Linked DNA regions of Homo sapiens: all the other regions are linked to region 4. The links are contacts of gene promoters, found by promoter capture Hi-C in human tissues and cell types (Jung and others, 2019). All regions are on one chromosome and are shown on one strand. Each heading gives the region's core, a stretch centred on a gene start or on the middle of the fragment in contact. The rest is flanking DNA. Distances are from core to core; before and after follow the strand shown. Region 1 overlaps FARS2 (phenylalanyl-tRNA synthetase 2, mitochondrial). Region 2 overlaps LYRM4 (LYR motif containing 4). Region 3 overlaps FARS2 (phenylalanyl-tRNA synthetase 2, mitochondrial). Region 4 holds the start of NRN1 (neuritin 1).

The links. Contacts are between HindIII fragments. The study calls those that stand out against the background at their distance.
Region 1: a fragment that was not itself captured here is called in contact with the fragment with the promoter of NRN1 in region 4 in 1 of the 25 tissues and cell types used here (dorsolateral prefrontal cortex).
Region 2: a fragment that was not itself captured here is called in contact with the fragment with the promoter of NRN1 in region 4 in 1 of the 25 tissues and cell types used here (IMR-90 fibroblasts).
Region 3: a contact is called between a fragment that was not itself captured here and the fragment with the promoter of NRN1 in region 4, in 1 of the 25 tissues and cell types used here (lymphoblastoid cells).

What each region holds. Positions count from the first base shown.
Region 1 is chr6:5,269,905-5,276,125 of GRCh38, forward strand. All of the region lies in intron 1 of FARS2 (phenylalanyl-tRNA synthetase 2, mitochondrial), which reads left to right. Among named protein-coding and RNA genes, the nearest start is that of FARS2, 12 kb to the left of the region's middle. The HindIII fragment of the contact is 3,203 bases long and covers 2,449-5,651 here.
Region 2 is chr6:5,168,134-5,174,305 of GRCh38, forward strand. All of the region lies in intron 2 of LYRM4 (LYR motif containing 4), which reads right to left. All of the region lies in intron 3 of LYRM4-AS1 (LYRM4 antisense RNA 1), which reads left to right. Among named protein-coding and RNA genes, the nearest start is that of MIR3691, 23 kb to the left of the region's middle. The HindIII fragment of the contact is 5,106 bases long and covers 2,016-6,172 here.
Region 3 is chr6:5,396,357-5,403,175 of GRCh38, forward strand. The region is part of intron 2 of FARS2 (phenylalanyl-tRNA synthetase 2, mitochondrial); the gene reads left to right. Among named protein-coding and RNA genes, the nearest start is that of FARS2-AS1, 58 kb to the right of the region's middle. The HindIII fragment of the contact is 5,265 bases long and covers 2,395-6,819 here.
Region 4 is chr6:6,004,674-6,010,601 of GRCh38, forward strand. It overlaps NRN1 (neuritin 1), which reads right to left and starts at 2,252. Exons shown (of 3, transcript NM_016588.3): 1 at 2,022-2,252. The coding sequence starts at 2,076. RefSeq lists a silencer at 4,183-4,302. The HindIII fragment of the contact is 19,231 bases long and covers 1-5,928 here.

The DNA of each region.
Region 1 (6,221 bases), core at 2,800-5,299, 730 kb before region 4:
GTAAACATTTATTTTCTGAGCACAATTGAAGCACTTCAGCCTGGCAAACTTGTAATCTGTATGTGTAATTGTGAGTTTGAGTTAACTAACAATATTTAAGAGTTATAAAAGCCTGGCTTCTGTGAAATGGATTACAGTAATATTGGCAGAGAGTAAAACAGTTAGTTTCAGTTAATGAAGATGAGTTTTTTGGGAGAATTATCTTTTTTTAAATCAATTCCTGGAATTCTGCAGTGCAAAGGGAAAGTAAAATGAAGCAGTCATGAAATAGAAAAAGCTTAGCAGGCAGCATACTTTCTTTCCTGTTTCTTGACGTTCTGAGATAAGCACATTGTTATTTATTTCAAGTCTTGGAGCACTTTGAGACAAGCACATGTGCCTGGGCATTCATAACATTAAGCCCTGTTAGGAATCCCACTTACACCCTTGGCTTCTGCGTACTGTGAGAGCTGGGCTGGATGATAATTACAGTCAGCTTTCATTTGTAGAGCCCAGGTCTTCAAATAATTTCCAAGTAAACTATCCCAGATTAATACGTTTCAGGACATAAGTGTGGTTCGCTAGAGCTGTCAAGCTGTCTGGATGCCCTTCTGTTAACTTTGTAGAAGAGATTCCACGTGTGTCAAGTTACAGTGTTTGCTGAAATTTTTCTGTTGTCTTGAAAGCTATTTGAAAATGAAATGTTCATTATAGTACTGGTGGTCAGGTATGTTCCTTAGATATATATGAATTAATGTCACCACACTATAGACAGTAATTTTTATATCACCTTCTCTCCAAAAACCTGCAGCACTTTTAGGATGAAGTCTAATTCCTTAACACAGCCTATGAGACCCTGACGACTATGGCGCTTACCCACTTCTCCAGTCCCATGTCATACCTTTTTATTTTTCGCTTGCTGCTTTTCATTCTTTAGTACTCACCTCTTTCCCCTCTACCCTGGGGACCTTTGCAAATGCTGATCCAGCTGCCTGGAGTGCCCTTCCTTCCCTTGCTAATTATTCTTCTGATCTCAGTTTAAGAGATGCTTACTCAAAGCTACCTTCTCTAACTTGAGTACATCTTCCTCTGTTAAGCTCCCTTAGTATGGTGAATTGCTCTTCAGCTTAGAGTGACTGCCATTGCAAGTAACTGAAGTCAAATTGTTTTAAACAAACCTAGTGGCTTTATTGTCTCCTGTGTCTTGAGGGTTCAGAAGCCAGATGGGCTTTAGGGTTGATTGGTTTGAGTGATGTTGCCAAAGATTCAATTTTGTGCTTTTCTCTACTTTGTCTTCTCTAACGTAAATTTTATCGTCTGGCCAGAGTCCTCTCTCTCGGTTATGGGAAACCATCAACAGTTTGGGGGCGCTTGTTTCCAAAACCTTAGAGGAGTGAGAGAGCTTCTGGACCAAGAGTGCTCAGCAGTCCTCTCCGTTCATGTCACTGGCCCTCCTTGTGTCATGTCCTCATCCATTTCTGAACCAATAACTGTGACCAGGGAGAAGATAGGATTCTTTTGGTCTTGAACCAGTTGCCTAGCTCCTAGAGATAAAGGGGAATTATTTTTTGTAAAAGGAACAAAGTTCACTAGAGCAATCTTGCCAGAGTTATATTTTTTTATTTGATTAATTTTTTTGTGATATTAGGCTGTGTATAAGAACAGAGACTATGTCTGTTTTTTTTTTTTTTTTTTTTGAGGCGGAGTCTCGCTCTGTCACCCAGGCTGGAGTGCAGTGGCACGATCTTGGCTCACTGCAACCTCCGCCTCCGGGGTTCAAGCGATTCTTCTACCTCAGCCTCCCGAGTAGCTGGGACTACAGTCGCCCGCCACCACGCCCGGCTAATTTTTATATTTTTAGTAGAGATGGGGTTTCACTATATTGGCCAGGCTGGTCTTGAACTCCTGACCTTGTAATGTGCCCACCTCGGCCTCCCAAGTCTGTTTTTGATTACTATTGTTTCTTCAACATTTTACATCTAGCTTTGCATATAGTAAATGATCGATAAATATTAATAGTGTAATGACTCAATCACGTAAGCTCCAAATACAGTAAGGACCCCCTGCCGCCACCACCCTTACCCATGGTTTTGCTTTCTTAGTTACCCAGAGTCAACTATGTTCTGAAAATATGTAATGGAGAATTCCAGAAATAATGCATGTTTTAAATGGGTGTGTTCTGAGTTTTGTGTTGAAACCTGCCCAGGGCATGAATCCTCCCTTTGTCCAGTGTCTCCATGCTGCATACACGCTACCTGCCCATTAGTCACTTCGTTGCCTTCTCAGTTACCACAAGATCACGATTTTCGTTATGGATAGATGACAAGAAGAAACAGGGTGAGTGCAGTGGGATGAGGTACTTTGAGAGAGAGAAGAGACCATATTCTTTCTCTTTTTCATAACTTTTATTACGGTAGGTATATTGTTATAATTGTTCTACTTTTTATTAGTTTTTCTTGTTGAATTAATGATGGGTTTTTCTTTTTTCTTTCCAAAAAATAATAATAACCACTATCTTATGCGGAAATGATATCACGAACAGTTGCATTATCAAATCAAGGAGGAAATGCAATCAGAGAACAGGCAGAAAAACTATGATTATAATGGTTTGTATTTTTCTTGTCTCAGATTCTTTTATTTATTTATTTTTATTGATACATAATAGATGTACATATTTTTGGGGTACATGTGATACTTTAATACATTCATATAATTTATAAAGATCAAATTAGTGTAATTGTGATATCTATCACCTTAAATATTTGTCTTTATGCTAGAAACATTCAAATTGTTTTCTTCTAGCTATTTTGAAATATGCGATAGATTATTATAATCTATAGTCTCCCGGTGATCCATCAGACACTAAGTCTTATCTCTTCTATCAAGCTGTATTTTTACTTGCTAGTCAATGTCTCTGCATCCCTCCTGCCCTGTACCCTTCTTGGCCTCTGGTCACCACCAGTCTATTCTCTCTTTCCATGAGATTCACTTTTTTAGCTCCGACATACGAGTAAGAACATATGGTATTTGTCTTTCTGTGCTTGGCTTATTTCACTTAACATAATGTCCAGTTCCATTCATGTTGCTGCAAATGGCAGAACTTCATTCTTTTCTATAGCTGAATAATGCTCTGTTGTCTTTTTATGCCACATTTTCTTTGTCCTTTCATCCCTTGATGTACACTTAACATTGATTCCATATTTTGGCTTTTGTGAATAGTGCTGCAATAAACATGGGAGTGCTGATTACAATGCACATATCTTTTTGATAATACTGATTTCTTTTCTTTTGGATATATTCCCAGCAGTGGAATTGCTGGACATATGGTAGTTCTATTTTTAGTTTTTTGAGGAACCTCCACACAGTTTTCCATATTGGCTATACTAACTTATATTTCCACCAACAGTTTACAGGGGTTCCCCTTTCTCCACATCTGTGCCGGCATCTTTTATTCCCTTTTTGATAAAAGCCATTTTAACTGGGGTTAGATGACATCTCATTGTGGTTTTGATTTGCATTTCTCTGATGATTAGTGATGTTGAGCATTTTTCATGTATCTACTGGCCATTTGTATGTCTTCATTTCAGAAATGTCTATTGAGATCTTTGGCCCAATTTTTAATCAGATTGTGTTTTTTTTTTATTGAGTTGTTTGTGCTCATTATATATTCTGGTTATTAATCCCTTGCCAGGTGGATGGTTTGCAAATACTTTTTCCTATTCTGTGGGAGATTCTGGGTTGTGTTTTCACTTTGTTGATTGTTTCCTTTGCTTACAGAAGCGTTTTTGCTTGATGTAATCTAATTTTTCTCTTTTTGCTTTGGTGGCCTGTACTTTTGAGGTCTTCACAAAAAATCTTTGCCCAGACCAATATCCTGGGTTGTTTCCCCAATGTATTCTTGTAGTAGTTTCATAGTTTCAGGTCTTAGATTTAAATCTTTAATCTACTTTTATTTGATTTTTGTATATGGTGAGAGATAGGAACTTAGCATCATTTATTGAAGAGTGTTTTTTTTCCCCATTGTATGTTCTCAACACCTTTGTGGAAAATAAATTGACTGTAAATGTATTGATTTATATCTGGTTCTCTATTTTATTATTAGTTATTGTTGTTAAATCTCTTACTCTACCTAATTTATAAATTAAACTTTATCATAGATATTCACGTACAGGAAAAAACATAGTAAACAGTACTTAGGGTTTCGTACGCTCCACAGTTTCAGGCATCAACTGCAGGTCTTGGAACCTCCGTAGACAAAGAGGAGCTACTGTAACTTACCTGTAAAAATTATTGAGTGACTTTGGCAGATAGTATTAGTTGGCTACCCATCAGCCATATCAACCGTACTTCTTCCCGGCCATTAGAACCCTGATTTTGTTTGGGTGGCCATGTGCCTAGTTCCTGGAAATGAATTGTAATGCGGTCTTAGGCTTCATAGTGATTGCATTCCCTCTTTACCAGATACTTGTTTGTCATAGCCAGGCATAGCCACAAGACACAGATCTGGTTAATGAGACAACAGGAAGTTGTCTGGAAGGTTTCTAGGAAAGATTTTGTTTTCTATTAAAAGATAAGTATTTGCACAAGAGGGCTTACTTGTGTCATCTTCTCCCCTGCTTGGAATGCAAGTAATACTAAAGCTTGAAGCTCAGCAGACACACATGAAGGAAAGGCCAAGAGAATATGAGATTCCAGCCTAAACATTGGCTTTTCTGAGCCATGAAATGAACCCTGGAACTGGATGCGTCTAGACTTCGTGTTTTGTTAACAACTAATGTCTTTCTGTTTTCAGCCACGATTATTTAGTCTTTCTGTTTTATGCAGCTCACCATGTCTTTTTTTTTTGAGACAGGGTCTTGCTCTGTCACCCCAGCTGGAGTGCAGTGGCACAGTCATGGCTCACTGCAGCCTCCAACTTCCGGGCTCAAGCAATCCTTCTGCATCAGCCTCCCAAGTAGCTGGGACTACAGGTGCATGCCACCTCACCCAGCTAATTAAAACAAATTTGTTTTTGGTAGAAATGGGGTTTTGCTCTGTTGCCCAGGCTAGTTTTAAACTTCTGGCTTCAAGCAGTCCTCCTGCCTCGGCCTCCCAAAGTGTTGGGATTACAGGTGTGAGCCTGGCCCTACATATTTCAATATAGTGCCAAAAATAAAATAGAACTTCCCCGCTTCAGCCTTGCCAAAAGTCTTTATTTGGAATTTATTATATTTGTCAATTTAAGTTATTTGTTTTTGCTGGTTGCGAATCACTGGGATATTTTCTTTCTTTTTCTTCTTAAACAGATGCATTTGTTACATGTACACAAGGCCAAGCTTTTTTGCACTGAAGGACATTGGTATATGAGGGTCCTTCTCTTGAATAATCAATATTTTCTTATACTCTTCACTCCAGTCATGACTACTCAGCTTAAATGTTACTTCTTCAGGGAATGTTCCCAACCTCAGTTTAAATTACACCCTTCTGATTTTATCATTATTTCTTATGACATCTTGTTCTTTACCTTAACTTTTTATAATTTAAAATTGTACAAAGTAGATCTACATAATAGAAGGTTCCTGGTTTAATGTTGAGTTCTCCCACCAGAATGTGAATTCTGTGAGGGCTGGGACCATGTCTATTTTGTTCATCACTAGAGGCATAGTGCCTACTAAGTGCTCAGTAAATCTTTGTTAAATGAGGAAATGAAGGAATATAAGCCTGAAATTTTTAGATTTCTGCATCTTTCATCCTCCTGCCCTGTCACCACCAAGAATATTAGGTAACATGAAGTGTTCAGCCACAGCACAGATTCTGTTGCATTTGTTTGGATTATATTGCTCCCTACTGGCCAGGATTTAGGTTTAGATTTTAGGCTTTTAGACTTTAATTTTGTTTGCCTCAATAGAAAATATAATGGGAGTAGCATAGTCACTTAGCATAGTATCTGAGTAAACATCCTGTCAGTTCCTTCAGAAGAGTGATACATATTTTGCATACTTTATCTCTTGCGTTACGATATATTCTCCCAGAATTTTATATTATCTTAAGCTTTGCTGGCACTATTTTTATATATTGAAGTTAAGAGCCCCTAGTAGTGAATGTTTTTATTTTCTGCTTTTGGATAGCACTAGAAGCATGGAAATGACTATCATTTTAGCTCTGTTACTAGTCACAATCATTTAAAATTGCATTTGGAAACCCTATTTTCTTTCTGAAAAAGTAGGCTCAATGGGGGAGTTGTAAGAATTATTGACACAAGT
Region 2 (6,172 bases), core at 3,319-5,818, 830 kb before region 4:
GGAGAAGAGAGAGGAAGGAGGAAAGAAGAAGCTCTTCTTTATAAAATAAGGCCAGCTACGTACAAAATCATCTTCTGCAACCACTCATGTAATAAGTAAATCAGGCAAGGGTGATCATCAATGGATGCAAAACGTGGGCAAAACTGCTGCAGAACAGGGTATCAACTAGGTTTCAAATATTACTTGTTAATGACAAGGAGAAAGAGAGATCTCAAGCAAATGCTGAAAGTTGGCATCGCCAATAATGGAACTCACAATACGTGCCTGCAGATGTGACAGAATGGGAAGCACACATCATGCATGCAGTATTCTTGCCAGAAATGTTTAACCTGAACCCAAGCATGACGACAATGAGACACGTCCAGACTGCAGGACACCTGGCTTGGGTTCTCCAAAACCAAAACATCACGAAAGACAAAAACAGGAGAAAGTGGGGGTGTCCAGATTACAGGAGATAAAACAAACATGATAGTCAAGGAGAGCCAATGGACTGACCCTTTACTGATCCTGGATGGGGCAGGGGCAGGGGCAGGGAAGGGCTTGGTGGGGAGTTTGGAGAAATTTGTATTGGATTGTATTTTCCGGCAATGGATAGTATTACTGCATCATTGATAAATGTCTTGGGTGTGACATAGGTACTGTGGTTATGTACGAGAACACGCTTCTTCTTAGGAGACGTATGTTGAAGAATTTAGGGGTGAAGTCTCATTACATGTGCGATTTACTTTCAAATGGCTCAGGCAAGAATATACTGCAAGAGTGACGGTGATAAAGGAGAGGGAGGAGGGCCAGGGCGTGTGTGAATGAGCAAGACCTGGCAAATGTGGCAAACAGTAACAGCTGGTGAACTGGGGAAGGTATATGGGTTTTCATTATATTATTATTTTTATTCTTGAAAATTTGCAATGTAAAAAATTAGGGGGAAAAAAGACAAATGTGCATTTGGCTTGTTCTTTTCTTCATTTTTAACTTTTTTTTTGAGACAAGTTCTCACTATGCTACCCAGGTTAGCCAGAAACTCCTGGGCTCAAGCGACTCTCCTGCCTCAGCCTCTAGAGTAGCGGTGATTACAGGTGTGTGCCACCGTGCCTGGCACTGACTTGCTCTTGCCTGAACACCAAACCTTATCACTTATCTGACAGCAGTCAGATCTGATCATTTTGGAATTCAATGGTGGAGATAAAACTGGCCAGAATAAGAACAAAAGGAAGGAACTGGCACAAACAAAATGCGTGGACAAAAGGCACCTGGGCACACAGGAGTATTTTCAAGCAGGAATCCCTTTTAAGATGAGGAATTACAACGGGACTTTAAATGACGGCCAAGAGTATAGTCAAATAAGTGGAACTGAGCAGATAACTATACAAGGCAAAAATGCAGTGAGCATGGGTTCTAAGGTTACAAATAAATTCAGTGAGTAGGCGAATTTATAAATATGAATAATGAGAATGAGAGTAGACAGTATGTGAAATACACACCTATTTTCATACATATACACCATACACATTTCCCCCTTTATTTAAAACTTCTTTTTCAACTTTGAAAGTGATTCTTGTCTTGGGATACAATTCACAATTTACAATTACACGCTGACTTATTCGCTTGCCTATTTACCGATGATTTTTCTCACTATTTTGTAAGATCCACAGATCACCTTGCATTCTGTGTCTGCTGTGAGCCTTCTATTGGGATTGGAGGGAGGGACCCATGACCAGTGTAGGAGGGAATGCTCCAACGGTAGGATAACTTGAGAAAGCTTTCAGAGAGACAAGCGTTTAAAAAGAAATGGCCAGCAAAGGTGCCGTGGAGGGGTATTACGGACAAGGTACAAACACGGCTATAGCCCAGGGTCACGCAGACAACAACTGGGCAGGCTGACAGAGCTGAAGTGTCAGGGATTTGGTAATGGTTGTGAAAGCAGAATTTTAGGAGAAAAGCCTAGCTTGGCTACAGTGTACAGTGTTGGTTGAAGGCTGAAGAGGTTATGGGATTCCCACCTGGCATCTTTGGATGCCAAAGGGTTTTGGATCTGAGAAAGGGGGCAAGGTAAATGTCAACATCAAATGTTTGTTTGAAAGCAAGCATTTTCATTTTATTTTCCCAGAAAACCTACTGGAATTAGCATACTGACCTATATACGAAAACCAATCATTAGGAAATAGCTAGAAATCAAAGACTTAACTGAAATCCATGGATTAGGTCCATGCCTTAGTGGAATTGTGTGTGTATGTGCACATATATATATATATGCATTTTTCAAGGGGAGTATCCAAAGCTTAGTCAGATTCACAAAGGGCCTGTGACCCAAAATATTCTTGGGTATCAAAAGAGCTTTCTCACTTTATTTCTTTTATTTATTTATTTATTTATTTATTTAATATTTTTGAGACGGAGTCTCGCTCTGTTGCCCAGACTGGAGTGCAGTGGCGCGATCTCGGCTCACTGTAACCTCTGCCTCCCGTGTTCAAGCGATTCTTGTGCCTCAGCCTCGCGACTTTCTTTCTTTTAAATAGGGCTACACGAGTAACAGGGTTTCATCCAGTCTTATACCACAAGAGTAACACAGCAGTAGAATGTTAAAAACAAACACACACCCTTTTCTCCCCAATTGGGGATGTATAAAATCCCTTTATACTGGGTATACATTTTGACCTATCAATTCTACTTCTAATAATCTATCCTAGTGAACAAAGATATAGGATTCACAAAGGTGTTCATCATAGCACCACTTAAAGAAGCAAAAGCTGAAGTGACCTAACGGTCCACCATTAGGGGTTGGCTCAACATATGATGGTTACTGCGTTGAGTGTACCCTATGTGTCCATTTTAAACTGATGATGCAGGCATATTTTTTACTGATGAAAGATGTTAATTTGAAATTAGGAAATAATAAAAGTAAGTTATAAATGATTAGTAGGATTCCATTTAAGGAAAACTATGCATTCATATTTATCTATCTGTGGAATAACATTTTGAAAGGATATACATGAAAATAATATTTCATGATAAAAAGATTATGAATATTCTTTCTACCCTCAAATATTATTACAATAACCACAGATTATCTGTGTAATAAAAAAGCAATACTTCCCTTAAGCCACCCCTCCTAATGCCAACCAAACCCCTAGTCATCCATCTACGTTACATCCCTCTCCAGCTCCTACCCTAACTCTCCTTTCCTGTCAGGCACAACACTAAAACACTGTTTCGGGAGAGTCCTCCATCCCTCCAGCTCCTATGTTTACAACTGTGAATCACTAAAGCCATTCAGCATCTAACATTTGGAAGACCTATTCTGGCCTCCAGTTTATACCTCTTGCCTGAGAAAGACACACCAACATCAAACAAAAATAAATGATTCCTGGTGTGTGTGTTAGGGGAAGTGGTGGGGGGAGAAACAGTGAAGGCTAAAAGAAAGCCAGGAAATATTTTTATAAGCAGAAATAAATCAGGGAGTTTAAATTTTTCCCGTACTCGATATAAGAATCGATAAGCAGTTGTTACCATTTTGCTGGTGCTTGTTAACCAACCGTATAAACATTTTAAGAGTCTAACGTGCTGACAAAGCACCTCTTTCTGTGGCGAAAACCCTCATGAAGCAAAAGTATACAAAATGCAGGGCTTTTACACCACTGTCATTGTAGGTGATGAGATTTCCCCTGTTTTATCAAACATGGCAGATTTATACAGCATCTTTAAATTGTTTTTTATCATGATTTTTAGGTTGAAGGGATACGGGAAGAATTATGAATGGGGGAAAACCTACTCAGAGTTCATCAATTTCTAGGACAGAACACTGTAAATCACCACTCCATTGGAAGAGAGTCCATAAACATAACAGTGACACCCACATGGCAATAGAGGGTCATGGACAGGACTGCAGTCTTTATGTGGAGCTCTGGGTCGTGTCCTTTAGGGAAAGCTCTCCTGGCTACAGAATGCAAAGAGTCAACACCCACAAGCCTCACAGGCTGCATTCAGGAACCCTTCACCATCCCTGAAAGGTGCTCTGGAGACATACTAACCACCTGACGACAGGCCTACCCGGAAACCCTAGGGTGGCAGCTGATCTAAAAGGAGGCAAGTGAGGATTTGCTGCACACCGTGTGTTCCAACATGCTGGGAAAGCACGCTGTAACACGAGCTGCACAGCACGGAAGAGCATCACCTGAGCGGCAACAATTCTCAGAAGGCCCAAAAAAAGGAGCTGAGGAGGGAGGATTTGTCGGTGCATTTCCAAATACTTTCGAGGGAGAGGAAGCTCTGGACTGTCCAGGAACGATGACCACAGTTTCACGAGCACCTCCCTTCCTTTTGCTTTGATGCTAGCGTCACTAAGCTGCCCCGACCCTACCCTGCTTTGAAATGTGAGATGCCCTAAGGAAAGCTCTCCTCCCAGGGACTGAGCATCTCGTGTTCTCACATCCTGGACCTGTGGGGCTGAAAGTTCCTCTCTGCAAAGGGAGGACCACACAAATGACTGCACCTGGTCCAAAGGGCTCCCCAGCATCTCACAGACACTGTTTTGTTTATCACACAGACAGAAACACGCACCAAAAATCATTCTCATGCTCACAAAGTCAAAACCCTGATGTTTGCATTAATTCTAAAGAGACACGTTAAGGCACTTGAGAGACTAAAATTATTCCTTGATGATTTTCAGAAATACTAATTTTATTCCTTCCTTTCTCCCCCAAAATACTAATAAAGCAATATGGCATTATTTCAGTGACCTATAGGGCTAGCAGCCAGTTACATTCTACTCTTTCACATTAGATGATAAAAACAACCTCCCCAAATGATCTGGAGTCAAGCTGAAGAGCAGCTTCTTCACTGCCAATAAATCCATTTTCTAATTATTCAGAAAGACAGGTTTGTCTTTGGCCCTGACTGCATTAAAAATACCGGAAGTATCATTGCTTTAATGTGCATTATAGAAACATGACTCCCCAAGTGAATCTGATCCATTAATAACATCTCTTTAACTGCTAATGACTTCTGCAGACATGTAATAGAATATTTTATGGCTGTTTTCAACCATCTGTCCTTCTTTCTTTCAATATGAATTTGCCAGAGATGTAATGAAATTTCCTGTCCTCTGTGCCATTACATGTTTGTTAATACCAACACACCAATCAGACACATCAACGCTGTTATGCTCACTATACATGGAGCTATGCTCTGAGCACTGCTCAAGGAATGAGAACCTTCTGTCTCCAATATTCTCTTAGGCTACCCTTGAGCTAGCCCAAGTTTCTAACCTCTGTATGAGCACATTCATGTATGTTCTCGAGATTTGTAGGGCTAATGAATCACGAAGTCTGAATCAGTCATACAATAAGAGTTCTAAGAACAAATACCTGCATTAAAGATGCCACACTTTAAAAAGTTAAACATGATGTGTAAAATTACAATCCTTTTCTTTTCTATGAATGATATCCTACATTAACACATTTGAAATTCAACTAAATTATGCTTTTGAACAGTTAATGAGTACCCCAGTGATCAATATTTCATATTTTCAACTTTTTTCATTTACAAATTCTTTGATTGAGTACTATATGCTAATCACCTTTCATAAAACAGTCCATTGCTCTGAGTGTACGGCTCATGTTTAAATATGTATGCAGAAGAGAAATCCATTTGATAAAAAGATATGTCCTGAATTAATGCGGTGGGTTTTAAAATATAGCCGTAACCTGCTTTAAGGCAGGTTAGACATAGAGTTGCTTTCAATAGGAAGCTGTGCTGGAGACAACAGGCAGATTCCTGGCAGTATGGGTTGCTGTGGTATGAAAAGATCTGTGAAGTGACACTGGAAACTATAGACTGGGGGGCTTTGTTTCGAGGCCTGGGGTAAATGCAGGTCCAAGGAGGAAGCTTCCATTTTGTCCTGAGCCCCAGGATTCTGTGAGAACTGCAACCCAGTGTGCAAAGTGCAGAAAGCTGCCTCCTCTTCGCTCTCTCAGTTCTCTTTTGTTGTCAGACCTGATGTTTTCCTTAGTAGATTCTCTGGAAACATTCTCTGTTTTTTTTTAAGTTAGGGCAAAGAAAAAATAAAGAGTCTTTCACAATCAGCTGTTGGTGTTTAGAGCTTACAACGCATTTTGCAGTGAATGCTCTACAGAGTATCAAAAAATTCATTAAAATTTCACCTGCACAGAGAAAACAC
Region 3 (6,819 bases), core at 3,777-6,276, 610 kb before region 4:
TTCAGAGATTTGTTTTTTGCATAATCATTTGTAAAAAATCATTTGGCTACAAGGCTGGAATTTGGGGTTGTCAAGCGGAGTAATAATACTGTTTTGATTAAGAACAAGGTATAAAAGTATGAGGATTTTTCACCCCCTGGGAGATTTATAATTTGATTCTGAAAGCAGTTTATGAAATCAAGTTCCGGAAACTTCCACTTCTTTCACAGACTAGATATGCTGGCTAAAAAAACCCCAACTAGACTCCACATAAAATAATTTTGTTACAATTTTTAGGCTCACCGAAAGTGACAGAACTTCCCAAGGGAGAGGGGAGAAAATGGAAGGAACTGAGCGCCAGGAGCAGTGAGCTGACATGAAGCGTGTGGAGGTGCTACAGCTGCTGTCAGCAGCAGGGCAGCTGAGCGATCAGGCCTCTTGGTAGTAGTGGCAAGATGGGGAAGTCAAACCTGGGCCCCTCACCTTCACCTCTTCAAGAGCGGTAAATTGGTTCCAGGGCTGTTGCTGCCCTGGTTACACACAGTCTTTGAAGGCAAGTGTCCCCTACCTAGGCCCTCACGTTTCCCCCTGATTTGATATCATCCAGCCTAAGATCACCACACACAAACCATCCTGTGTGAAAATCAGCAGAAATCACACCCAGTTGCTTCAGCTATTTGAATTCCTTGGCGCAAAGTATAAAATAACTGTATGAAATCTTTAAAGAAGTAGAAAATACAATCTCAAATACGTATAAGTAATAAAAATGGTTTTTAACAAAAGATCATACATGAGTTATTAATCAATGAGAAGACATGGGGGAAATGTACATGCATATTACTCATGAAGGAAGACAAGCTGAAAAGGCTCCATACTCTATGTTTCCCTCTATATGATATTCTGGAAAACACAAAGCTAGGGAAACAGTGAAAAGAGCAGTGATGATCAGGGGCCAGTGCGGAGACAGTGATGAATTGGCTGAGCGTAGAAGATTTTTAGGGCACTGAAAACACTGTGTGATACTATAATGGTGGATGTATGTTCGACATTTGTTTAAACCCATAGAATGTACAACTCCAAGAGTGAGCCCTAAGGTAAACTAAGGACTTTGGGTGATTATAATGTGTCAGTGTAAGTCCATCTAGTGTAACAAGTGTACCACTCTGGTGGAGGATGCTGATAGTGGAGGAGGCTGTGCATGTGTGGAGGAGGAATTATATGGGATATCTCTGTATCTTCCTCTCAGTTTTGCTGTGAACCTAAAACGATGCTTAAAAAAGTCTTTATTTAAAAAAAGAGACTATGCCGAATTGAGAAAGAACTAAATAGAACATGTAAAATTGAAAAATGTGTTTGCTTGAATTTAAAAACATGTCCTTTTTCTGGACTAGAATTCAATCTAGGATTACATGTTATATTTTTCACGTGTCCATCTCCTTTATTAAATTGGGATAGTTACTCAGTCTTCCTTTGTTTATTATGACTTTGATGTATTTGAAAGGTACTGGCCATATATTGTTACTCAGTCTTTCTTTATCATGACTTTGATATGTTTGAAAGGTACTGGCCATATATTTTGTGTCATGTTTCTCAACTTGACATGATTTTGTATTTTCTCATGGTGAAATTCATATTCTACATTTTTGACAAAAATGCCATGGAGATTTTGTTGTGCCCTTAGTGAGTTCTATCATGAAGAACGTGGTGGTGATATGTTAACTCTGATCACTCGGTAAATGTGGCATCCATTAGGATTCTCCGCCATTATTATTTTCCCCTTTGTAGTTAATAGTGTTTGCAGGAAGATACTTTGAGACTGTGTAAATAGTTCTCATAATATTTTGCCCTATTAACTTTGGATTCCCTTGATAATTTTTGCCAGAAATTATTGTGGTGTTTGTCAAATGGTTATTTTCTTTCTAATTTATTCTAAAGGTATTAATTAGAATTTTACTGTAAGGAAGACCTTTACCTTCTCTCCCATATATTTATTTAATTATTTATATCAGTATGGCTTCATGAATATTTGGTTATTGTATGGGTTATAACCTATTACTAAAATGATTTATTTTATTGCTGAAATTTACCCAGGTTTGGTCTTTGGGAGCCCCTTAAGTAGTTTTCTGTGTCCTCTGACATGTTATCATTTTTTGTCCCCATGAGATATCCCAGATTCATCTTTTACTTTCTCCACCCCAGCCCTGGAATCAGTCATTTCTTTAAGAAACTCTGTTCCTTTTTTATTAAAGAATGGTATTTAGAAGCCTAGACCTGAGTATACTTATTGCCCTAGGGATATCATTACTTGTAGGCCCCCTCTAGTGACAGAGCTAGGAAATACATATACCTACTTCTATTTCCGTATTGATGTATCTGCATATATGTTACAAAATATGAATTCATATGAGTACCTCCAATCTAAGCCAACACCACATGGCTCATTCTAGCCCTCCCCATTGCCTTTGATAGTGACAGTGAGAAACCTGGTTCTTCTTACTCATGACATATTTATTTTCTTGTTCAGTCCTGGAATGAACATAAAGGTAGTTTCATAATTGTTAACACATACCTCTGTGGAAAAAATTTGCTAACTAGTGTACAATATTTGCTATGTTTATTTTGTTTTTCATCTTATTTAGTTAAAATACTGTTTTTGAAAGTTATTTTGGTTAATTCTTTTCTTCTCCACTCTCTTTAAGTGGCTGTCATTTATTTAGAATAAACTTCTGTCCATCATTACTGTTTGTATTCCATTTGTGTTCTTCCCACCTCTGGGTAGATTTTATATTATTTTATTATTATTATTATTATTATTATTATTATTATTATTATTATTATTATCATCATCATCATCATCGAGACGGAGTCTCCTTTTGTTGCCCAGGCTAGAGTACAGTGGCATGATGTAGGCGCACTGCAATTCCTGCCTCCCGGGTTCAAGTGATTCTCTTGTCTCAGCCTCCCAAGTAGCTGGGATCACAGACGTGTGCCACCACGCCTGGCTAATTTTTGTATTTTTTGGTAGAGATGGTGTTTCACCATGTTGGCCAGGCTGGTCTTGAACTCCTGACCTCAAGTGATCCTCCTGCCTTGGCCTCCCAAAGTGCTGGGATTGCAGGTGTCAGGATTTTATTTTTAATGTTTTGCGTAGATAAAGTATTAACGTCCTTCTAAAACTCAGAACTATACAACAAGGTTTACTTAGAGGTCATGACCCCCACTCTGCCATTCATTATACTCTATTCCCATTCAACCATTTTTTCCATCCTGTTTCCACCACCTCTGTGTAGGTGATTTATTTTTGTTATTTCTAGCCTATCCTTCCTTTTTTTCACAAATGAGATGATTCATGTGTATTTTATTATTTCTTACATGAAAGGTAGCAAGTAATATATGCCCTCTTGCACTTTGCCTTTTTTATTTATCAGGATGTCTTGAAAATCATTCCATATCAGTCCAGAGAGATCTTCCTCGTTCTTTATTACACCTGCAAAAGTACTCTATTGTATAGGTAGACCATAGTTTATTTAACATCTTTCCAATGTGAGACTTTTTAAAAAAATATGGTGCAGTTACAAACAATACTACAATGAAAATTTTGTGCATGTGTATTAATGTTGGAAGTATATTTTCAGGGTAAGTAGTTAGAAATGGAAGGACTGGGTCAAGAGATCAACAAATATGTAGTTTTGTTGGGTGTTGTCAAATTCATCTCCAAAAGGGTTCTACCAGTTTCCATTTTCACCAGCAAAGTATGACTGTACTTATTTTCCAAAGCCTCAGCGTATTCAAAAGAATATGTTGTCTGACTTTTAACTTTTTGCCATTGTGATAGAAGTATTATGTCAGTGTTATTTTAATTTGCTTAATTTGCTCTTTAAGTTTGAATTCCTTTTCATGTGTTCAGGGGTCATTTTCATATCTTTTTTTTGATGAATTGTCTGTTCTTTTTCTATGGAGTTTTTGGCCCTTTGTCAACTTTTAAAAGTTTCTTTACGTTAGTGGTATTACCTCTTTGTGGTGTATGTTTCCTGACTTTTGTTCCCCTTCTTTTTTTGTCAGTTTTCAGGTGGAAAGACCTTTATGTGTGTGTGTGTTTGTATGTTGTTAATGGGAATGATTTTTAGTTTTATTGTATTTTAATCAGAGAGTATAGTTTATTATTTCTTCTTTATGGAATATACTTATTTCTTTGTGACTTACTATGTGATCAATTTTTGTTAATATTCTCTGGGCCCTTGAAAATAAAATGTATTTTTCATTATGAAGGGAGTAAGTTTAATATGTGTGTATGTGTGTGTGTGTGTGTAAAATATACGTATACATATTTATGTATACACACATGATTTCATTTCCTAATTATGTTTTTAGGTCTTTTATCTTATTAATTTTGCACATTTGATCTTATACTAAGAATGATGTATTAAAGTTTCCTATTATCATTAATATTAATGTGTTTCTATGTGTGTCTTTTGCGTCCCCTATGGTTCTTTCTACACAGAGGTAATAATTGTCTTATTGATATATAGATATTCATAAGTGTTATACCTTCACTGTGATTTGAAACTTTTAGCATTAATACAAGATCTTCTTTGTCTTGCTCGGTGTTTTTTTGCTTGAATTCTACTTTTTCTGATTTTAAGAATGCTATGCTTGCTTTTTTATTGTATCCATTTGCCTGTTATATTCTGTCCATCCATTTGTTTTTAACATTGTTTTAGGTGTATCTTTTGTATAGTTGAGTCATGCTTTGTGGCCAGATTTATTTTTTTAAGAGGTGAATTAAGCCTGTTCATATTTATTGATATTACTTTCACATTTATTGAGTTATTGATATATTCGATCTGAACTTTATCATAATATATTGTGGTGTTATATATGTCATAACATGTTACATTTTATTTCTCTACAATATATGTTTTATTATGCTTTTGAATTGAAATTTTGGTTGCTCTTTAGAAAGGTTATATTTTTGTTTTAATGGTTGCTTTTATACTTAAAACTTTTAAAGTCCCTTATCCCTCATTTTTAACTTTGTTCTTAGTAAAAGTATTCTTTAACTATTGCCTATGCAATAATCAGTATATTCTACTTTCCTCTTTGCTGCTTTCTTCCATTGTTTAGTTACGTTATTTCTACTTTGTCAGAACATATAACAATTGGATATTAGTCTTTCAATGTAATCCCCAGCTTTTAGTCTGAAATCTGTAATTTTTATGTATTAACATGTTCTCCATTTGTTTTGTGCTGAAATTTTCCTAGTTATTTATTACTTGAACAAGGCTCATGCTTTGGTAAATTCTTCAGAAAGAGCTCATTAATGTGACATTCCTATGCTCTTGTGTGTTTCACGTTTTTTCTGTAGACTTGGTGCTTTAAGGACAGCATTGATGGATATAAACTTCTTGACCCACATTTTTAAAAACTGAGTTGTTTGAAAATGTGGCTTCATTGTTGTCTTGTTTCCGTGTTGTTTTTGAAGAATCTGATGCCACTCTGATTGCTTTACTCCTCTACATTAGTTGATCTTTTTGCCTAGAGGCCTTGACGATTTTCCCCATTATTTATGAAATCTGTTTTATAAGAATATGTCCTATATTTGATTTTTCCAGGTTCTTTTTCACAGGTACCCATTTTATCTGGTATTAGTTCTGCTCCATTGTTTTTTTTTCCCTCTTTAACGGACTCCAATTATATAAATGTAATTCCTTCTTTGCCTGTGTTCCATTTCTACCACTTTCTTTCTGATTCTTCTTTCTTTATTTTACCATCCTCCTTCTGGTTGTTTTTCTCCTTTTCTTCAATGCCCCCTCATTAAATCTTGATTGATTCCATTGTCCCTTGCATGCTTTGGAATTTAGATTTTGTTTCTGAGATGATTTTATTTCTTTTTTTTTTCTGAGTTAAATCAATTCTCTTTTCATTTTTTCTCTATTTTTGTTCTTAATTTTTGAGTTTCTGACTAAAGCAATTTATATCCTTAAATGCTTGATTGAGCATATGTAACTTAGTTTTTAAGTATTAGTTTGTGTTTCTTTTTAGTGCTCCTTAGTTTTGGGGGGTGGGTGGGAGAAAAGTTGGATTTTCATTAGTTGAGCTCTTTTGAATTGACTTTCTGATTTTTGAGTAATAATTTTCTATATTTTTATTGAATTTATTTGTCGTTCCTTTTTGGTTGTGTAAAAGACTTCCTTAGTCTCTGGTGCCCTCTTCTGTTAGTGTAGCAATGCACACTTTAGTGGTTTATTTATTTATTTTTGGTGTGGGTTAGAGAATGGTTTTGTAAATCCTCTAATTTTTTAGCTGTGCTTTATCTTTCACAACCTTGAATTTTCTCATTTGCATCTTTTTTCTCTTCCTACTCAATTGAAAAGGTTGTCTTTCGCTTTGTATTAACTCCTTTTTCTTTTATTGTAACTATGGTTTTGGGATCCTCTCACTTCAAATTGGGCATGCTTTTACACCACTTTTCTGTGGTCCCTGCTCAGGCCTACTAGGACACTTTTTAAAGGCTTTTCACACTTAGTGTAACTTACACTTTCTGGGTTTCTAAGGTCAACCTTAGCACCTCACTCATTCTCCTCTCTTTCTCTTATTTTTTCCAGCTTGCTCTTGCTTACTTCAAAGCCTTATCAGTGGGGTAGGAGTATAACAGTTCTGTCCCTAGGTTTTGACTGGCATTCCTTCCTGCCTGCCTGCCTGCCTGCCAAAGGCATTGTGTTCAATAGTTTTATTTGTTCTTGTTGCTCTAAATTATTTTTAGAGGAAGCATTGACAGCCGTCATTGTCTTTAGTCCTCATAAGAATAATTTGAGGCCTAGGATATTAGAATATTTCTCT
Region 4 (5,928 bases), core at 1,002-3,501:
CGCGCGGGACGGATTTTGCAGGCGCACGCGTCCCAGCAGGTCGCAGCCCGTGGGTCCCTCGCTGTCCTTCCTGAACCCCGCTTAGGCGAGACTCTAGCGGGTGACCCTGGCTCCTTCCCTGTCCTCTCTGCCGTCCCCTTCTTGTGCGGTTTCCATCCGTTCATTCATTCGTTCGACCTCTCATTCATTCCGAACTTCCTCCTGCTGCGTCTTCTTTCGTGTTCACCACACTCTTCTACCTCCCCGCCCCTCCCAACCCCCACTTTTCTTGCCAAATGTCAATGATTTGGGACAGCTCCCAGCCGTGAATTAATAAAGACCGAGGTTCTGTTGCAGGAAAGGGCAGACATTAGGGAACAAATACGTTCAATTTCAATTCCACAGTCAACAAATAGTCATTTTTGGACCGAGGTTAATGTGTTCAAAACGCGTCCCTCAGGCACGACCACCGTCTTTTTTTTCCCTCCAAACCTCTCAAAGTAAGGTTATTTCCTACCGGGAAAACAGAGTCCCAAATCTTGTCCGATTAAAATTTCTATCTCAAAAACAACTCTCTCTCCTGCTCTCTAAAAATTCAAAGGTTTATTGCAAAATGCCACATTCACTTATTTCCAACATTTAAGGAATTTGCTGCCATTAGAAATATTATTTACAGCAGCTCTTTTCACTAATGTCAAAGATTCAAAACAACCAGATTTAAAGCATTGTCATTTTTTGGAACTAAAGGAAAACACCAATATCCTGCACTCACACACTCTAAAATCTTTATAATGTTTCTGCATTATAAAATCTCAAAATCATGTCAGTTGCATAAAACCCCACTGCAAAGAATCCATTTTAAGGTCTAGAGAACTCCAAACCTTGTTTCCTTCACATTTCTTATGGAAAAAACATATTATGCATTCTCCTTTCTTGCCCCAAACCAATTACCTAAAGCACCCCCTCCCCCAATACTGCAAGGATTTGTCTGCAAAGAATGCCACAGCCTGAACTGATAGGAGGTAACAATTCCGTTTCAGGAGTTTCTTTTTTCCCCCGTGTTGTCCATTCTATTAATAACCTGCTTCACTTTCACTTTTAGGCCACGTTAATTAATGTTCTGACCCAGTGTCGGAGAAGGGGGTTTTCTAGTGCCCTCTTCTATATCTTTTCTTCATTCTGGATGGTAAAAATGTGAACTTTAAAAAGACCCCTGACAGCGTAACTACAACTCAACATTCCTTAACATAAAATGGGGACTAAATAATTCCTTCCATAACCAATCCCAAACAAACAAAAATAACAAACACCCGACATGACATATTCCAAACACTTCTTAACCCTTTCCTATATATAAAATGCAGACACCAATGTGTAAAGTAGCAGGCAAATGCATCTAGAAAAGTATATCTACGTAAATTTGGCTGAATTCATCCTCTTCAATGGTAAGCATGTTAAAATATGTGGTCTGAAGTTCCCTATCACTCTCGATTTGCCCACCAGCCGGGTCTGCGGTGCCCGTGCAAACGCTGCAGCTAGGATATAGGGGGGAGGAGGGGCGGGAGAATGACAAAGTTCTAAATGCAGCAGTCTGAGCCCTGGAATATCTTTGCTTTCAGCACATAAACTTTCCAGTCCTGGCTGCCTAGCCATTTTATTCCTGCATTCACATTTCGACTCTTCAAAATCATATCTTGCAGTATCGCAGGGGCCAGTACATTGCCCCAGAGCGCACCAAACCTGGTATAAACCCAGAAAGGGAAACAAAAATGGATGTGTGCTCAGGAAAAAGGGGGAAAAAAACCGTGTCCAGAAAATGTCCGGCCGCACACATTTCCTGGCGAACATTTGGAATCTATAGCTTTAGGAAAAACCGATCTGGGACGCGCTAGTCCCCAGGAACTGATGCCCCCACCCTCGGGGGATTGCCGGCTTCTCCGCACCCTGGGGCGGCCGCGGACCCGCTAGTCCCCCTCCGCGCCTCGGGCCGGGGCAGGCTGCCTCCCGCCTCCAGCCTCCAGCCGGGCTGAGCGGCCACTTACCTATTTGCACCGCGAGGATCAGTGAAATATATCTGCCGTTCAACTTAAGTCCCATCCTACGTTTAGTCAAACCATTTGCGACCGCAGACCTTTAAATAGTTAGTTTAGAGAACGCGGGGGAAAGCCAAAAAATAGGCATTGCCAACAAGTTCCGGGAGCGACAGAGACTTTATGCACTGGGAAGGCAGAGGGAGGAGAGAAAGAGAGGGAGCGAGGAAGAGACAGAAAGAGAGAGAGAGAGAGAAAGAGAGAGAGAGAGAGAGGCTGAGGGGGGGGGGAGAGCTGGGAATGGTTCACTCCATTAGAAGGGGGCGGAGGAAGTACAGCCTCACGCCCACGAGCAGGCCTGACGTGGGGGATGACACGGAATGATTTTTTTTTTAATATAGACACCTTGGTAGAGAATCGCCATTTATAGTCATCAGAAGCTGGAATTAATCAGATATCTCCAATTAATGTGCGATCTGAACGAAATTTTGCCTCCCGGGGGTGAGCACTTTCCTATTCTAGCGGTCACCCCTGCCTCTTCCTCGTTCCGGGGGCCCCCCAGCCCCGCCGCCTCCCTGCGCAGAACAGGGGCTCCCCCTCCCTTCCCCGCCAGGAGCTGGGGAGTCCTGGCGCGCCCACTCGATTGTTTCAACCTGCTCCCCCTCCTCCATCAGCACCACAGAGAATCCAGCCCGCTCTCTACGATGCAGGGGGGTTTAAAGGAGCGGGAGAGGGAAAAACAGCTAAGCTAGCTCGATTAATTCGAAAGCGCTCCTCGGCCGCCCGCCCCCTGCGCTTGCCTACCCTCTTTTTCTCCAACCCAGCAGCTGAGCTCTGGGCGCAGCCTGGAGCGCGTGAGCACGCAGCCCGGCCCCCCGCACGAGCACACACACACACACACACACACACACACACAAACGCGCGCGCGCACGCCCGCCAGCCGCGCCGAGCGCCCCCATGCCCGCCCGCACACAAGGCACGCGAGCGCGCGCACACGCCCAGGCCCCGGGGGTTTGGTTTGCACACGTGGGGCCCCAGAAATAAACACCGAATGTCCTCTGAATTTTACCCACCTGCGATGCCCCAGCGGGCCAAAGGCCGCTTCAAGGGACACAGCGACACCTGTTTTAGGGGGCGAGTAGGGCACCGGGGAAGGAGCCTCTGATAAGACAGTTTTCGGATACTAGTGATTTACCAACCAACTCTCAGCGCTTTAGGAAATTTCCAAGGCAAGCGCTGGTGTGCGGACTTCTTTCTAATCTTGATGCGCCTCTTGGGCTTATTTGTTGGGCTACACACACACGTACCCACACGCACACACGTACATCACGTACGCACACGCACACCCGGACCCACACACACCTGCACTGTCTTTTGATGCTCAGGCACAGACCCTGTGTAGGTGTAGCCTACCCTGCAACAAAATACTTCTGCAGCTGGCTTTGTGCTAGGTGCAAGCTGCTATCGACGACAGCTTGAGTCAAAACCGAAAAACTAACAGGGCTATTTCCTTTCTAAACGCCTTTAAGCTCTGGTTTTCTTCCTTTCTTCTGCACCAAACAGAAAAAAAAAAAGTCTAAATTGTAGCGTCTTTAATAAAATGCTAAAGAAGGCATTGGCCAGCTTTAATCCTTAAGCCTGTGGAGAGAAAAAAATGAAAACGACCCCCCAAATTTTGCCAAACTACACTAGAGGACGTCAAGCTGTCAAACTGTAGAAATGCACACGGATTAAGGAGAAGCGTTGAATTTGCTTCTACAGGCAGCTTGCCCTCTAGGGCCAATCTTGCCGTCCCCATACTCAGATATTTGGAGATGCATAGACAAAGGGGGAGAAAGGTGCAAAATAACGGGGGTAGGACAGGCTGTGGAGGGTAGGGGGCCGAGGGGAAGCTGCGGGGGTCCTACTGCAGCACTTGGTGACGTGAGGTGTCTGCAATGTGCGGCCCCTAACTCACGTCCCGCGGGAGCCTCAGACTCCCATGCAGCCTTCCTGGCCCTGGGGGCGGAGTCATGTCTCCCCGCCCCTGGTTATGTCACCGGCCTGCGGGCGGGGCGGTTGGGGGCTCGCCTTCCGGTGTCCAGGGGCACGGTGGCGGCCCCGGGTGTTTCCTTTCCCCGAGCTCGGAGGCTCCGGGAAGAACCGAAAACGTGGGCGGACAAGGGGTGGGGCGGGGGCTGGTGGCGAGAGGGGGGCGTTTCTCGGACCCTCCCCCGACGTCTTCCAATGGCAGGGCGGGAGGCTTTCCGAGGGGCGGGGCCTCAGGGGGGTTGCCACGCGGCCCGGCCCACGGCTCCGCCCCTCGCTCGGGGTTCCGCGTGGGGCCGGCCCAGCTTTCCCGGACCAGGCCACCAGCTGCGGGCCCCCAACCTCGCTCAGACTCGTGCAGAGCCCAGGCTTGGGAGTGGCTTAAGGTTTTTTGCCCTCAACGTCCTTGCCTTCCTCCTGCTTATCCACCTGGGATCTTCACAGCATCATTTTCTGGGATCCTCTCCAACCCCTCCCCTGTAACTCTGAGCGTGGGGCGCTGGGGATGTGGAGTAGGCAGGGCTGAGGGCCTCAATGAAGCGGGTGAACCCACGCGCGTGCGCACAGCCGCCCGCGCCGCGCCCCGGGCCGATCCGGTTCTTGCCCTTGGGACGTGGCTGCGCCTCACCGCCCTACCCCGGGAGGGAACCCCCGCTGACTTTTTCCTCTCTTCATTTTCCTCCCCAGGCGTCCCAACCTCCCTCATAGGCCTGAGTCTTTTTAAAAGTGAAGAAGAGAGAGGCAAACAGAGTTGGTACTCTACATAAATGATTTTCTGGGTAGATAGATGCACATGACATTTTATTTTTTGAAAAATTCTCATCTTTTAAATTACAGGTCGTTCTGCAGTCCAGGCTCCATGCAGGGTTGATTCTTCGTAGTTCTTTAATTAAAGGATATTGCATTTCATGGTTGTCAATGCATGCTGTCTGGGAACGGTAGCATCCATGGTTGGAGGTGGCTTTGGAGAACGTTCCCTCTTTTATTAATGTGAAAAGCTCATCTCACATCATACTTGGGGTTGAAGATGCAGTGGGAAGAGCAGTGAACAGGGGCAGGGAAACCCAGCTCACAGGCTGACCCCCACACTTTGGAAAATGAAGGAGAGTGGACTATGAAGTAATTTCCAAAGCTGTTTTCACCTTTGAAATTTTGTGAACTGAGGATTTTCTAGAATTCTGTGAATGGGATTAGGAGTGGAAACGCACAATCCGAAGAATAAAATCCGTGCAAGAGTGCTTTTTATAAGCCAACTTCTTGCAAAGAACGTATTTCTTTTTGATAAGCAATTTTGTTTAAAGAAACAAATACAGTTCAGGAGAGGGAAAAAGTCACAGGTGCTGTTTGGGTCTGCATGTTGAATTGAGCCAAAGTAACTCCCAAAAGTAAGTCTGCATAATTAAGGTAATAAATATGCAAAATTCCTTATCCCTAGAACGGCCAGAAAGAGACTATGTCTAATTTTAAGCCTGGTGGGCACCAACTTCCTTTCTCGTTTCATGGCGCTACAGCCCTAGTCTGGATGAGCAGTATGCCAGTTGATTCCCCAGCTCCTGCTATGAATCCATCATAGGTCGGCTTTCCAGAAGCTGCCACCTCGACAAACAACCCTTTGAAATTATTTGCAAGAGCAGTTGTCAAGGCCACTAGGAAATCCCATCTTTGTATTCTAGGTCAGAAAAAATCGCTGCTCTATTAGAATAGATTGGTCTAGCAATACATCTCTCTCATAAATTTAGTCAGTCATTTAAATATCTTCAGCTAAAACCTTTAATAAAAATGTGAATTTATATTACATAACTTTTCATTAAAATGATAACTATACTGTATTTAAACAATCATATAGATTACGAGAGGAAGGAGATTTTTGTGGAGGTATATACATTGGTAG